Regions from separate parts of the Homo sapiens genome. Here region 2 is linked to region 1. The links are contacts of gene promoters, found by promoter capture Hi-C in blood cells and fetal thymus (Javierre and others, 2016). All regions are on one chromosome and are shown on one strand. Each heading gives the region's core, a stretch centred on a gene start or on the middle of the fragment in contact. The rest is flanking DNA. Distances are from core to core; before and after follow the strand shown.

The links. Contacts are between HindIII fragments. The CHiCAGO score rates a contact against its expected background, and 5 or more counts as called.
Region 2: a fragment that was not itself captured here is called in contact with the fragment with the promoter of AHCTF1 in region 1 in 1 of 17 cell types (total CD4 T cells); the score reaches 6.9 in total CD4 T cells.

The regions. Positions count from the first base shown.
Region 1 is chr1:246,930,416-246,934,236 of GRCh38, forward strand. It overlaps AHCTF1 (AT-hook containing transcription factor 1), which reads right to left and starts at 1,533. Exons shown (of 36, transcript NM_001323342.2): 1 at 1,163-1,533. RefSeq lists enhancers at 656-745, 1,866-1,915 and a silencer at 1,086-1,185. The HindIII fragment of the contact is 4,479 bases long and covers 491-3,821 here.
Region 2 is chr1:243,245,595-243,249,073 of GRCh38, forward strand. The region is part of intron 1 of CEP170 (centrosomal protein 170); the gene reads right to left. Among named protein-coding and RNA genes, the nearest start is that of CEP170, 7.9 kb to the right of the region's middle. The HindIII fragment of the contact is 168 bases long and covers 1,347-1,514 here.

The DNA.
Region 1 (3,821 bases), core at 283-2,782:
ACAGAGACAACGTAGACTTCCCATAGCGCTTGGCACACTTAAAACATCCCTTCAAGTATTAACCTTAACTGGGCTTGTCATCCCAGGTCAAATCCTCCGAAATAAGTAAACCACTCTAATTTCTTCTCTCCTAAGAGACTCTATCAGTGAAAGCTCACAAAAAAACAGTTTAAAAAAAAAAAAGGGGGGGTCTCGCCATGTTGCTCAGGCTGGTCTCAAACTCCTGGGTTCAAGCGATCCTCCCGCCTCAGCCTCTCAAAGTGCTGGGATTACAGACAGGAGCCACTGCGCCCAGCCAAAGACAGTTCTTAAAATCTACAGGTTCTTTAGGATATTCTGAGAATAAATATCGTTTAGGATTTCCCCAAAGGATTTACGTTTTGTTCTATGAAGAACCCAGTTCTTCCAAAAATTTCTACAACTGACGATTTGGAAATAAAAATAACGCTCATCTCATAAAACTTTGCACACAGATAGTATGAACCTCGTAAGCTTTGAGAACAAAATTTCCCCATCTCTCAAAACAAAACACCCAAACCAAAACAGTCAACCAGTGGCAAAAGAAACCGTCCTGTTTCCCAGGTAGGAAAAAGGAAGGCAAAGCACCCCAAGATGTGCTTTTATTTTAAATCTCCTTGATCTGACCAATCGGGTGAGCTGGAACCTCACGGCTGAGCCCCGAGTCCAACTTCTTCCCCGCCAGGACTACTCACTGTGGCCAGGCCCAAGCGCATGTGGAACACACGCCAACACAGGACAGGCTCAGCACGCCGGCCGCTTCCCTCGGGGAAAGGCCCGCCAACGAGTCCATCGCGTGGGAGAACAGTGGGAAAGGGTCGCGGCCCCGGCCGTCCGTAAAGGGACCCGACTGCCGGCGCAGGACGCGAACCACCAGCGCCGCTCCGCCGCCATGTGCCGCCGCTCCTCCGGTCCGAGATTATGTAACGAAGCCCGGCGCCCGCGAGCCTGCCGTACCCGCCACCGCCACCGCTCGCCCCCTCGAGCCCCATCCGTTGGCCCCGCGCACGCCCGGCCTAGGCCCGGCGCTCGCGGGGCAGAAGCCCCGCCGCCGCCGCCGCCGCCGCCGCCGCCGCCGCGGGTCCAGGCCGCGCGACCCGCCCTCCGCCGCGCGGGCCCAACCCCCTCCCTCCCTTCCCCCTACCTGAACGGGGCGGGTGAGCGCGCCGCCGCGGGCCGAGTCCACCGGGTCGCCAGGCCAGGCGCGAGCTCCTCCCGTGCGGGTCCGTCACAGCATCTCCCGGGAGACGTGGCCGCCACGGGCCGGGCTCACACCCCTCCGCCCGGCTGAAGCCGCTCCTCTGCGCTCCGGCCGCCGCCTGCGACCTCCCCGGCCACCTCAGAGCCACACGCCCCCGAGAGTGCCTTCGCGGGCTGTAGGCCTGCAGACCGCTCAGCGGCTAAAACGCAGTCGCTGCTCCCGCCGCGCTTCTGGGTCCTTCCCCTTGCAACGCTGCCTGCTCGCCTCGGACAGCGCCGGCCCCGCTCTGCGCATTACCCTGCGCCGACAAAACCGAGTTCCACACGCCCCGGAAGGGAGGGAGCAGAGGAAAGGGCGGAGAGGGAGGGGAGAACCGGCGGGAGATCGCGGCTGCAGGGACCAGAGTTCTCGCGATGGTTCCGCGCTCTAGCGCCGGCTCCGCGGGAATTTTCAAACTCTCGGTGAAAGAAGGAGGTGGGAGGGAAAGGGAGGAAAGAGAAGCAGGGCCTGGAAGGGCGGATCATTTACAAAAAAATCGGGTCTCTCCGCCTCCGAGGAGCTGGTGGGGAGAAAGACTACGAGTCCCACAGTGCCTTGCGCGTGAAGCCGCCCTGGCGGCCCCGGCGGCGCGCCCCGTGCGCAGTTGGGAGTGGTAGTCTTCGCTGGGGGTCGCGCCGGGCTCTGCCAGCCGCCTGCTGCGATTGCAGGCGGACTCTCTTGTCACGTAATCGTGTGGCCCTGCCAGCTGGGGGCCGAGTGATAATCTTTCTCCCATAATTGGCAGCTTGCATTCTGTATTTTCTGTTCTGTGCTCCCACTTTTCTTTTTTTCTTTTTCTTTTTTTTGGAGACGGAGTCTTGCTCTGTTGCCCAGGCTGGAGTGCTGTGGCACGATCTTGGCTCACTACAACCTGTGCTCCCGCTTTTCATGCCAAAGGTGGGCTCCCAGACTTCTGGGGAAACGCTTTTTCCACGGTGCTGTTTTTTCTAGCATCCTCCTGTGCTTTCATGGCCAAAAATGCTCGCGCAGCCTAGCCTAATCTTTTTAGTCAAAATTTTACCCCAAATCACTGTTATCTTTTTGGTCACCGCGGGTTTTCATTGTGGAATTTCTTATTTCTTGTTAGTATCTTCCTTTGAAGCAAATCCCAGCGCCAAACATGTTTCAAACAGATAGGGAACGTATCCTTAATACTAAGTAGTAAGTAAAAGGATTATAACATGAGGTAGAGTAGGGATTTTAAGAAGATGCTCTTTTATCAGGAAAGTTTCTACTTTTCTGTTACCTTTCATATGTGCTTTTTAAATTTTTTTATTTTTGAGACAGTGTCTCGCTCTGTCGCCCAGGCTGGAGTGCAGTGGTGTAATCAAGGCTCACAGCAGCCTCGAACTCGTGGGCTCAAATGATCCTCCTACCTCAGCCCTCCAAGTAGCTGGGACTATGGGCATGGACCACCATGCGCCACTACGTCCCATTAATTTTTTTATTTTATTTATTTATTTATTTATTTATTTATTTGAGACGGAGTCTCGCTCTGTCACCAGGCTGGAGTGCAGTGGCACAATCTCGGCTCACTGCAACCTCCGCCTCCCAGGTTCAAGAGGTTCTCCTGTCTCAGCCTCCAGAGTAGCTAGGACTACAGGTGTGCGCCACCATGCCCAGCTGATTTTTGTATTTTTAGTAGAGACAGGGTTTCACCATGTTGGCCAGGATGGTCTTGAACTCTTGACCTCGTGATCCACCTGCCTCAGCCTCCCAAAGTGCTGGGATTATAGGCGTGAGCCACCGCGCCCGGCCTTATTTTTTATTTTTTGTAGAGACTGTCTCACTGTGTTACCCAAGCTGGTCTCTACTCCTGGGCTCAAGAGATCCTCCTGCCTCAGCCTCTCAACGTGCTGGGATTACAGACATGAGCCACCATGCCCAGCCTATTTTTATTTTTGTAGAGACTGTGTCTTGCTGTGTTGCTCAGACTGGAGTGCATGGCTATTCGCAGGCACTATGGCCTCATCAGTGCCACTGCTGCCTCCAACTTCTAGGCTCAAGCTATCCTCCCACCTCAGCTTCCCGAGCAGCTGGGACTACAGGCATGGATATCATGCCTGGCCCATATTCTTTCAGAGATAATGCTGCCTTTTGGAAATGTAATTTTCTTTTTTCTGTAATTTTTGTTTCTTTAGTAACAGCAACCTCCATACATATCATGTTTGTTTGCACAAGGTATTGGACCAAGTTGTGATAGAAACAGTTAAAAAGAGTACTGCTTTTGCAGTAGGAGGTTTGGGGTTCGTTGTCTTAATTATTTTAAAGAGATCTCTTCAAACAGAAACCACCCTCTGTTGGATGTGCTGATTTATGTCACATGCTCCATATTCTACACTTTCTTTGGCACTGTTTTATGCCCAGTTCATGAGTACTGTACCTCTCGATAGTCAGAAGACATGAATTATCAACTCAGGTGTGCTGCTAGTGAGCTGTGTGACATTAGGAAAATCAAGTGACCTCTCTGGGCTTCAGTTATCAGATGTGTAGAGCAAGGGATTGACTGATTCATTAGACAGATATTTATTAACTTTGCTCTAAGAGCCCTTCCAGTTGTGAA
Region 2 (3,479 bases), core at 181-2,680, 3.7 Mb before region 1:
TTCCAGCTACTCAGGAGGCTGAAGCAGAAGAATTGCTTGAACCCGCGAGGCAGAGGTTGCAGTGAGCCGAGATCTCGCCACTTCAATCCAGCCTGGGCGACAGAGCAAGACTCCATCTCAAGAAAACAAAACAAACAAACAAAAAACAAAAAACAAAAAACAAAACAAAAAAAACACAAAAAAGAAAAGAAAACAAAAAAACTTAGATGGGCATGGCAGCCCATGCCTACAGTCCCAGCTACCTGGGAGACTGAGCGGAGAGGATCCCTTGAGCCCAGGAGGTAAAGGCTGCAGCAAGCCATGAACACACCACTCCACTCTAGCCTGGGTAACAGAGCGGGACCTCGTCTCAAAAAAAAAAAGAAAAAAGAAAGCAAATTTTAAAAAAGATACGTAATATTCAGCACTGATGAAGGGGTGAAGAAACACACAGTTTCATATGCCAGTGGTAGAAGAATAAACTGATATAAACTGGAGGGGGTAATTTTATTAAAAAGTTAGAAAAGGTTTAATTAGTAGAATTCTGCATTTGTATCTGCATTGTATTTTAAGCATAATTTGTTGAAATCAAAGAAAAACATTGATTTGCACAGAAATTCAGAGTTAGAAATGTCCATTACAGTGTTGTTTACTTTTTTTTTTTTTTTTTTTTTTTGAGACAGAGTCTCGCTCTGCCACCCAGGCTGGAGTGCAGTGGAGCAATCTCAGCTCACTACAACATCTGCCTCCTGGATTAAAGCGATTCTCCTGCCTCAGCCTCCCGAGTAGCTGGGATTACAGGTGTGCACCACCACGCTCAGCTAATTTTTGTATTTTTAGTAGAGACAGGGTTTCCCCATGTTGGCCAGGCTGGTCTTGAACTCCTGACCTCAAGTGATCTGCTGGCTTCGGCCTCCCAAAGTGCTGGGATTACAGGCATGAGCCACTGGGCCCGGCCTGTTGTTTACAATTTTAAAAATACATTTAATTTTCATAAATTGTGTGTAAGTAGATTACATGTTTGAGAAGACAGATTCTATGCCACATTAAAAGTTAGAGCCAGAAAGTTTAACTTCATGATAAAATGTTACCAAATTAAACCAGAATAGACAAGAATACATAACAGGGTTACTGGCTAGTGGGATTATGATAGTACTTAATGGTAGAAAATCTTGTTTTCTAAATTTTCTGCCATGTATTAGGATTAGATTTGTAATATAAAAAATAAAATGGCCTTCAATTTGCAATGCATTATATGCATTTTTTATCCAAGGAGAAGTATTTAATGACCAGCCATAGCAAATCATATTATATAAGGTCTGCAAGATACCTATGTATTGTGAAGTTATAGTCCTATTGCCTCAAAAAGCTTACCACAAAAAGTCCTGTATTTGCGATGTTCCTTTTTCACCAAAATAAGTATTTTGCACTTTACCCCTATTATCATCAAGCAGACTCATTTCCCCCACCCTCCTGCTTCCTCAAATCAGTTTCTAGCTGGCTGCCTAGAGTTCAAAACCCCTAACCAGTCCCTAAGCTTTGAATTTGCACTTTTTCTATTCCATGTAACATGTGACAAACCATTACTCAGTTGAACACTTTCCAGAAAAAAGTCAGTTAAAAGAAGAAAGTCTTCCTGGCTGGCCTAGGGAAAAAAAAAGTAAGGAAGCCTTTTAACTTGCTTACTTTTCTACCTCAATTCTCTTTATTTAGACACTGTTTAGAATTAAAGGATGAGTTTAGGATTGGGAAAAAAAGCTATTATCTCAAAGCCTGGTTGTTCTTTTCTTTCTTTTTTGAGATGGAGTCTCACCCTGTTGCCCAGGCTGGAGTACAGTGACGTGATCTTGGCTCACTGCAATCTCCATCTCCTGGGCTCAAGCAATTCTCCTTCCTCAGCCTCCTGAGTAGCTGGGATTACAGGCCTGCGCCACCACGCCTGACTAATTTTTGTATTTTTAGTAGAGACGGGGTTTCACCATGTTGGCCAGGCTGGTCTCGAACTCCTGACCTCAGGTGATCCACCCGCTTCGGCCTCCCAAAGTGCTGGGACTACAGGCGTGAGCCACCGCGCCTGCCCTGGTTGTTCTTATCCTCTTTCTAGCCCTTTTCTCTACCCTCAAGAATATTATAAAATGATGTGCGAAACTGCCTATCGGGATAGAGTGCATAGGAAGTAAAAAACTATTCCTACAGACTCAAAATGAAAAATATTTTTATTTGCCAACATAGTTCTTCAAATCTAACACTATCAAGTTGGTACCACACTTGGGGCAATAAGGGAAGGAGACCCCTATCTGCAATTATACCTTTCATTTGGTTTTTACATCTACCTCGTTTGGCTACCACAATAAACCTCTGAGGTAGCTGGACTATCACTAGCTTCCTGATAAATTCTTCCTATGAAACAGCATCGCTTCTCCTGTTCAAACATCAGAGGCAGCAGCAGCTGCCATACTCATCCACGTAGGAAACAGCATTGGCCTCTTTATGAGTAAAACTTTGTTCAGGGCTTTAGATTTAGTAGTTGCCAGGGGAGAATAACTGTGAACATTCATGTTGATAAACCAGATTTAAAAAAGGAAATTGCTTTCTCAGAGACCATTCAGAAAGAAAGAGGATACTGCCTGATTTCTTATGAAGTATTTAGGTGATTAAAGGTGATACAGGGGACTGATCACTCCTTATCTCTAAAAATACTTCCTTTACTTGGCTTGTGGGACAACACACTCTTCAGTTTCCTCACACCCCACTGTCCACTTTTCAATCCTCCTCGATGGCGCCTTCTCTTTTGCTCAGCTTTCCATGTGGAAAGTACCAATTCTCAATTCTTGGATCTCTTCTCAGTCTAACTCCCTAGCCAAGAGATCCCTTTAAGTCTACTGGTGATGCTTAACATTTAACTATCCTCAGTCCAAACCTCTCCTCTGAATGCTTGACTTACATATCTAACTGCCTACCTGATGTGTCCACTTGGGCGTTTAACAGACACTTCAAACTTAACATATCCAAAACATTTGACTCTCTAAAGCCAGAAACTAGTAACTTTCACTATTGCCACTACTGTCGCTCTAGTCTAAGCCATTAATGTCTCTTAAACCAGATCATTCCAATCATTTCCTAGCTTATCTCATGGTTCCCAGTGTTTTAAAGAATTCCCAGAGCCATTCTTTAAAAATATAACCCAATTTTTTGGCTTTGCTCAAAATCCTCCAATGAATGCTCATAGCACTTAAAATCAATGAATAAAATCTCTATGCAACCTCATTTCCTCCTATAAGCACCTTTTCCTCACTCACCTTCAGCCACAGTGTTCTCCAAATTCACTTATCCCATTCCTGCCTCAGAACCACCGCACCTGAGTAGAATACTCTCCACTCAGATACCTACAAGATGCTTCCTTACCTAATGCAAGTTCTCTGCTAAATGTCACCTCAGAAAGAGGGATTCCCTAACCACTCTAAGATAGTTCTCAAGGTGTAGCATAGTGGATAAAGAGG